3 separate regions of the Homo sapiens genome follow, and regions 1 and 2 are each linked to region 3. The links are contacts of gene promoters, found by promoter capture Hi-C in human tissues and cell types (Jung and others, 2019). All regions are on one chromosome and are shown on one strand. The core of a region is centred on a gene start or on the middle of the fragment in contact, and the rest is flanking DNA. Distances in the headings are between cores, read along the strand shown.

Evidence for each region. The method cuts DNA at HindIII sites, captures the fragments that hold promoters and counts their contacts. A contact is called where the count stands out against the background at its distance.
Region 1: a contact is called between a fragment that was not itself captured here and the fragment with the promoter of ZNF226 in region 3, in 2 of the 25 tissues and cell types used here (spleen and stomach).
Region 2: a contact is called between a fragment that was not itself captured here and the fragment with the promoter of ZNF226 in region 3, in 2 of the 25 tissues and cell types used here (IMR-90 fibroblasts and liver).

The regions. Positions count from the first base shown.
Region 1 is chr19:43,891,148-43,894,001 of GRCh38, forward strand. It overlaps LOC100505715 (a long non-coding RNA gene), which reads right to left. Exons shown (of 3, transcript NR_038334.1): 3 at 657-1,993. Among named protein-coding and RNA genes, the nearest start is that of ZNF404, 8.6 kb to the left of the region's middle. The HindIII fragment of the contact is 7,085 bases long and covers 1-2,854 here.
Region 2 is chr19:44,473,608-44,476,307 of GRCh38, forward strand. ZNF180 (zinc finger protein 180) reads right to left here. Exons shown (of 5, transcript NM_001278509.3): 5 at 836-2,700. Among named protein-coding and RNA genes, the nearest start is that of ZNF180, 26 kb to the right of the region's middle. The HindIII fragment of the contact is 8,219 bases long and covers 1-2,700 here.
Region 3 is chr19:44,163,736-44,166,435 of GRCh38, forward strand. ZNF226 (zinc finger protein 226) reads left to right here and starts at 1,365. Exons shown (of 6, transcript NM_001032373.2): 1 at 1,365-1,407; 2 at 2,022-2,072. RefSeq lists enhancers at 1,057-1,206, 1,267-1,386. The HindIII fragment of the contact is 21,073 bases long and covers 1-2,700 here.

The DNA.
Region 1 (2,854 bases), core at 16-2,515, 270 kb before region 3:
GCCAAGAGGATTCAGTAGCAAATTCTCCCAAACATTTAAGAAATTAAAAATGCCAATCAAACTCAACTTGTTCTAGAAAATAGAAAAAAACAAACTATGTCATAAGGCCAGAATAACTGTGATATCAAAACCAGATGAGGATATTACATAAAAGGAAAATTACAATATATCTGTTTCATGAACACAGACGCAAGCATATTAAACCAAATATTAGCAAAGAGAAACCAGTAACATATTGACCAAGAGAGCTTTATTTTAGAAATTCAAAGGCCATTTAATTTAATTTTTTACCATAACCTCAAACAAGTATAAGTTTAATTTTTAAAAAATCAATGTAATCTTTCAATGTTAACTAATAAAGGAGAAAACCATTCAATTATTTCATTAGAAATAATCCATTTAACAATATACAACATTAATCATGATAAAAATTCTCAGCAAACCAGGACTAGAGGGGAACTTCTTTCATCTGATAAAGGGGACCTAAAGAATAAAAACTACAACTACCATTGTACATAAAGGGATCATTATACATAATATGGACCACTGTCTTTCTGATTTCAGGAACAAGGTAAGGTTGTCTACTCTTACATGTCTTTTCAATTTTGTAGTAGAAGACCTATCCAATATTATAAGGAAAAAATAAAAGGTGTAAATGGAAGGAAGTAAAATGATCTTTATTTGCAGATAGTGTAGATTACATGATTATGTACATAAAAATATTTTTTAATTCCACAAGCTTTAAATTAAATAATTTATTGCTGAATAAAGGGTAAAAGTATAAAACAATTATATTAAAGCAAAGCTACTGAAAAATAAAATTTTTAAAACCTTAACAGTTTGTAAAAACATAAAAAATGTAAAACAGGAATAAATTTAACAGATGTGCAAGACCTTTAGACAGGAAACAACAAAACCTTAAGGAAAGAAATTAAAGATGAATTCAATAAATGGAAATGTATTCCATGTTCATGAACTGTAAGACTCAATTTTGAGATAATTCTCTCTAAATTTATCTACTGATTCAATGTACTGCCAACAAAATGTCAGCAGGGCGTTTTGTTTGTTTTGAGAAAATTAATTAACTCATTCTAAAATTATAGAGCAATGCAAAGAACCTGGAATAGACAAAGTGATTTTGAAGAACAAAGTTGTTCTTCAACTTATATTACCAGATTATCAAGATATAATATAAAGCTACAGGAATTAAAATGGAGGTGCTGGCACAAAGATTGACAAAGAGGACCAACGGAAAAGTAGAAAGACTCCTGCACATATATGGGCCCATGCTTTACAGTAAAAGTCTGACTGCAGCTTAAGAGAAGGCCAGTGTTTTTAACAAACGGTGCCAGTGCACTTGGATATCTGTATGAAAAAAATGATTTTGAACTTCATCCCACTACATACACAGATATAAATTCAAGATGGATCATAGGTCTAAGTGTGAAAACAAACAATAAAGATTCTGGAGGAAGAAACAGAAAAATAACTTTGTGGTCTTGGGATAGATAAAATTTTCCTTTTTTTTTGTTTTAACTTTTAATTTCCACTTATTTTAGACTTAGAGAAAAGTTGCAAGAGTAGTACAGAGGGTTCTCATATACCCTTCATTCTAGCGTTTATCTTACATAACCAAAGGATAATTATCAAAACCAGGAAATTAACATTGGTACAATACGAAAAATTTGCACATCTTATTCAAATATGTTTTCCCATTAATGTCCTTTTTCTTTTCCAGGATCCCACACATTAATCTACGTTGCATTTAGCTGTTATTTCTCTTTAGTCTCTTCCGATCTCCTTAGACTTTCTTACTGCATTAATTTTCAGTTGCTACCATAACCAATTACCACGAATTTAGCTTAAAACAACATAAATATATAAAATCTCACAGTTTCCATGGACCTGGAGTTTAGCTGGGTGCTGTCCTCAGGCTGGTCTCACAGGCTGCAAACGAGGGGTTACCTGGGCTGTGTTCTCCTCTGGAGTTCAACTGGGGGAGAATTCATTTCCAGGTTCATTCAGATTGTAGGGAGAATTCATTTCCCTGTGGCCATACGACTGAGGGCCTCACCTTTTTGCTGACTGTTGGCTGGAGGTTGCCCTCAGGTTCTGCAGGCCACCTGCAGTTCCTTTGCAAGATGGGCTTCTCCAACATTGCCACTTACTTCATCAAGCCCACAAAAGAAGTCCAATCTGCTATGAGTCTTATATGGTATAACATAATCACAGTAGAGACATCTCGTCACTTTTTTTTTTCATATGATAGGTTTATTTTTATTATTTTAAGGAACCTTCATACTGTTTTACATAATGGCTATACCAATTGATATTGCCATCAACAGTGTACAAGTGTTCCCTTTCCTCTACATCCTCACCAACACTTATCTATTTTCTTTTCTTTTCTTTTTTTTTTTTGAGACGGAGTCTTGCTCTGTCACCCAGGCTGGAGTGCAGTGGCGCGATCTCAGCTCACTGCAAGCTCCGCCTCCCGGGTTCACGCCATTCTCCTGCCTCAGCCTCCCGAGTAGCTGGGACTACAGGCGCCTGCCACCGTGCCCGGCTAATTATTTTTGTATTTTTAGTAGAGACGGGGTTTCACCGTGGTCTCAATCTCCTGACCTCGTGATCCGCCCGCCTCGGCCTCCCAAAGTGCTGGGATTACAGGGGTGAGCCACCGCGCCCAGCCCACTTACCTACTTTCTTTTTATAATAGTCATCCTAACAGGTATTGTGGTAACATCTCATTGTGGTTTCATTTGCATTTGTCTGATGTGCTTTTCAGGTACCACTTAACCATTTGCGTGTCATCTTTGGAAAAAAGTCTATTCAAGTCCTTGCCCATTTTTAAATT
Region 2 (2,700 bases), core at 25-2,524, 310 kb after region 3:
AAATGCATCACGTTGGCCAGGAGATTTGCAAGGACTTACAGCTGAATGATGATAATGGGGAGTGACTGTGAGGCCCTGGGAGTCTCTGAGTGTAAAGGAAGATAGGTGTGGGGCCCCCAGGGAGTATGTGGGAGCCATTGCTGTGTAGGTGGAGGTAGTTGGGGAATAATCTGGTGAGCTCTGTGAATTTCTAGGGTTCTCCTGAATGCTGAGGGGTGACTCTTGCAGAAAACTGAGGATGCTTGGAGAATAGCTGGGAGACACAGATGAGGCCCTAAGGAATGGTGGTATAGAGGTGACAGAGATAAGGGAGGAGCACAGTGAGGTCTATGAGTTTCTGGGTGACTCCTGTGTGTTCAGGGCTGACCCAAGGAGAAATCTGGGGATGGTTGGAGAGGAGCTGGGAGACACAGGAGAGTCCCTGAGGGTTGCAGGTGAAGAGATGGGAGACGTGATAGAAGAGGGCCCTGAGATTTTTGTCTATAGGTGATACTTGGGTTTGGGAAGCTGAATGTTGCAGTAAGCTGGGGATTGAGAGAATCTGGGAGACACAGGAGAGTACCTGAGGGCCTGGAGTAAAGAGTTGGGAGACATGGGGCCAGAGCCCTGTGAGGTCCCTGAGTTTCTGCTTGTTACATGGGTGTCAGGGCCTGACTGTTACAGAAATCTAGGAATGATTGGAGAGTAATTGGGAGACATGAGACTCCCTGAGGGCTGGTGGTGAAGAGATGGGAGACATAGGGGAGGATCCCGTGAGGTCTATGAGTGTCTCTGTAATTCCTGGGTGTGGCAGGCAGACTGTCACTGAATATGAAGAATGTTCATGGCTTATATATTTTTTATTTTTACTTTATTTTCTAGGTCTCATCATAGCTCATATATAACACTCAAAACATCATTAAACCATCTAATCTAATATTCGACCATATCATTTCTTTCTTTACACGACTTGTGAGATAAGTAAGATATCAGTTAAAATTTTCATTTCAGCATCTGTTTTTCTCATATCCCCTTTGTGCTTCTTAAAGATGGTTAAAATAGGACAGACAGACTTGGAACTTTGTTCAACTGTCTTAGGAAAAGACCATTGCAGGGGCACAGTCTTTCAACCCCACTGGCCATGTAAGACTAGGCCTGGAGCCTGGAACACATCCTTCCCAAGAGATACTGAACCTCTTTCAGACTCATTGAGGGTTCTTCAAAGTGTGGGTCAGTGGTCCCCAAGGGATGCCCGCAGCTTTCAGTATTTCACACTCCATGAAAACATCAGCAACTGTTTTCCCAGACCTGACACTGCCAGGTGTGCAACAATCTCTGGATTAATCCTCATAGAGATGGCTCCACTTAGGGTCATCTCATAGGGATAGAATTTTGCTAAGGATAACCCCATCAGTTACCCTTTAAGTTTTCTTTCCTATCCCAAGGGTATTAACCTCTATTATCTGGTCTCTCAGTTCAACTTTCAGCTTATTACCTTTCTGGGATCAGAGGCTTCAATATATGGTCATCCACAGGATTCAAATTCATGATTCAAGGGAAAGGTCAGAAAGACATGTTAATCAAATCTTAAATATCAAAGAGTAACTAAAACTTTGCCTCATGAAAGCATTTTTGCAAGCATAATTTAGACGGTCAGCACTGAGCCAGGGAAGCACCCTTCTATTCAGAGGACTCTCACATCAGGGAACATATCCCAGAGGAAAGAGACAATGCTACATGAGGGGAAGAACTAAAACATGAAAATAGAGTTCCTTAATATTGCTTTGCATATATGAAAATAAGCCCACTTGCCCTCTATACTTCCCACGCATTCTCAGTTCTTCATATGAAACCATTTCTGGCCAAAATTTCTAGTTACCTATTTCCAGGAATCCATTTTATTTTCAATGAGGAATGTTCCTAGGAATCTATGTCCTAAGTAGTAATCTGCTCATGCTATTCCAAACATAAACCTCATTATCCTGAGGGATCTTTGCTATTTGGTTGCTTAGTCTTTCCTAAATAGTCAAAGAAGGAAATCTTTGTATTTCATTTTTGGCTTTGAATAATTTTTACTCATTATATCATTTATCATAGCATAACAGCGTACATTCCAAAAAGGAAGGCCCAACATAAACTGAGAAATTGAATAGATACATCCATAATCCCTTTCTATTCTAATCCATACACAAATATTTTATCATAATGGTTTTAGAAGTGAATATTATTTCTATATTCTTTTCCCACACTTTTCACTATATATCATAGACACTTTCCTAAAATTTATAAAATCTTCACATGTAACAACAGCAAGTGCTGTAAGGAACAGATTACAAGCTATCTAATTGGAAGATCATGTAGTAAAATGATGCACTAAAATATGGTTTTCCAGCCTAAGTTCTAAACACTACAGCAACCTTTAAATTTTCTCAATAAGCCCACTAGTGTTAGCATTCCATTTACTCTTTATGGAAAAAGAGGTCTAACACTGGCAGTTGGCTTTGGCATATGATTTTCTCTGATTCAGGTCTGAGTGCTTTCTGCAAGGAAAAGTGCCAGTATTTATTATTTTCATAGGAATATGTCATAAGAATCAAGTTTAACATTGTATATGGAATTGCCAGGTTGAAAAGTCGTTCATAGACTTTCCCCCTTTCTTTTCCAGAACAAATTTGAGACACACAATTAACAGAGGGCTGGAAGTTTTCCCACATATATTGT
Region 3 (2,700 bases), core at 115-2,614:
TTAGCTTTGAGTTTAGCTACATTTTAACGCTTTAGGGGATATTGTCACATAACATTTTTCTATCTTTGAAAAGATCCACAATATTATGTAATGATTACCACTATCTAATCCTAGAACTCTTTCATCTGCTCCCAAAAGAAATCCCCTACATGAGCTGGGTGTGGTGGTGCATGCCTGTAGTCTCAACTACCCAGGGGGCTGAGGCGGGAGGATCACTTGAGCCCAAGAATTTAAGGCTGCAGTGTGCTATGATCATGCCTGTGAATAGCCACTGTACTCCATTCTGGGAAACATAACAAGACGCTGTCTCTAAAAAAGTAAGAAAAAAAAAACCCTACATATTGACAGTCACTCCCCATTCCCAACTACATCTCCCCAGCCTTGGAGACAACTAATTTACTTTCTGTCTCTATGGACTTGCCTATTCTGCACATTTGATATAAATGGAATCATACCATATATGGTATCTTGTGTCTGGCTTCTTTCATTGGACATAATGTCTTCAGAGTTCATCTATGTTATAACATGAATCAATATTTTGTTCATTCACATTACTAAATAATATTGCATTATATGGCTAGACCACATTTTGTTTATCCACTCATCAGCTGATGGACATTGGGTCTTCTCCACTTTTTGACTATTATGACTAATGCTGCTATGAACTTTTTTAGAACAAGTTTTTGTGTGGATATCTTTCAGTTCTCCTGGGTATTTACTTAGGAGTGAAATTGCTGGCACATAAGCCCCAGATCGGGTGCCAGCAGATTCAGTGTCTGGTGAGGTCCCGCTTTCTAAGTCATACATGGTCCTTCTGGCTGTGTCCTCACATAACTAAAGAGGCAAAGGAGCTCCCTCAGGCCACTTATAAGAGAGCATTAATCCTATTCATGAGGGCATTGCCCTCTTGATCTGATCACGTCCCATAGGTTCCACCTCCTAATATCTTCTTGGGAGTTAGGATTTAAACATACGAATTTGGTGGGGGCCATAAACACTCAGACCATAATAATACCTAAAGAGAAGTGAGGGATTCTGGGAAATGAAAACCAGGAGCTCAAGGTAGTTGGACACTTCCACATCAGAAGGCTTGGACATTCCGGAAGTGTAGTCCAGGAGGGCGGTACTGTTCTGTTTTTCCCCCAACTCCAGCATTCTGTGATATGTAGTCCGGAGTTCCGTGTAGTCGCGCATAGCTCAGCTGCAGTAAGGCTGTAAATGTTTCCCCTGCGGAATCCTGGGAACTGTAGGTCCAATCGTTCTAGGTAGTTGTAGGCACTTCCGGCTCGAGGAAGGCAGTGCTGTGGAATTCTGGGAAGCGTAGTCCAGGTCCTCCTGATACTCGCAGGCACTTCCGCCCAGGAAGACGACGTAGCAGCCATCTTTTCCCTGGCTTTGGTGATTCAGGTCAGCTTCTCAGGAACCTTTCAAACTTCCCCGAAATGCACTTGTGGTCAGCAGCTAGCGGTCTTTTGTTTGGGGAAAAAAAGGAGTAGCGGCTAAGAGCGGAGGTTTGAGGGGCCAGGATGCTGTTTTGCGTTTCCCTGGGCGGAGCTTGTTAGAATTGGGGGCGTACTGGCTTCGGGCGGCTGGGGTGATGCTTCGTCGGGTTTGAAGGTCTCTCGGGCTGTTCGCTCCCTCATTGTGACTCCCCCACCTAATGAGCCAGCCCTACCACTTCATACAGTATCACATTGAGCGAGTTAGTTAATCCCCGTGCCTTCGTTTGCTGTTCTGAAGGAAAATAAAAGCAAAAACTTCCTAATAGAATGTTTTGAGAGAAAACGAGGTAATACAAAAAGTGTAAAACTGCCTGGCACGTGAATTACCAATACTACTGTAATTTTCCTAGAAACTCCCGTTCTGTGGCGAAATTCTGTGAGTCCATGAAGCTGGATTGTCCCTGACCTCTTTTGAGGAAGGAGAGGGTTGCTTCTAACTGGTCCTGGGAGATGCCACTGTGATGTATCCGGGATGAAGACACAATCCTGGTTACTTCATAGCCTGTTTTTCTTCCCCAGCCCTGACTTCTCAAAAAGCACTGCACAGAGGAGGAGGCAGCAGAACCCCATGTGAGTAAGACTTGTTGTTATTCTTGTTTTATTCACATAAATCAGAGAATGTGTGGGGTCATGTATTTGGGCATGAGAAGTGATTATAATTTAGCGTTAGTTGCTAAGTTCCATTCTAAGGGGTTTATACAAATGAACACCTTTCCACTATACAGTGGCTCTGTGAAGTGATACTCTTTTTCCGAGGAGACTGAGACATAAGAACATAACTTGTTTGCTCATAGCCACCTAGCTAGTAGGAGGCAGAGCTAGCATTGAAACCGAGGCAGTCTGAGTCTAGACCTGAGTCTTCTTTGGTATGTTCTGCATGAGCCATAGGCAGCTGGCTAGTATCATGTGAAAATAGGTTGGGACTTCACTGTGGGGACTTTGCTCAAGGTCTGGGCTATTCTATGACTTTTAAAAAATAGTGGCTGGGCACAGTGGCTGACGCCTGTAATCCCAGCACTTTGGGAGTCTGAGGCGGGCAGATCACTTGAGGCCAGGAGTTTGAGACCAGTCTGGCCAACATGGCGAAACCCCATCTCTACTAAAAATACAAAAATTAGCCAGGCGTGGTGGCCAACACCTGTAATCCCAGGAGTTTGGGAAGCTGGGGCAGGAGAATCGCTTGAACCCAGGAGGCGAG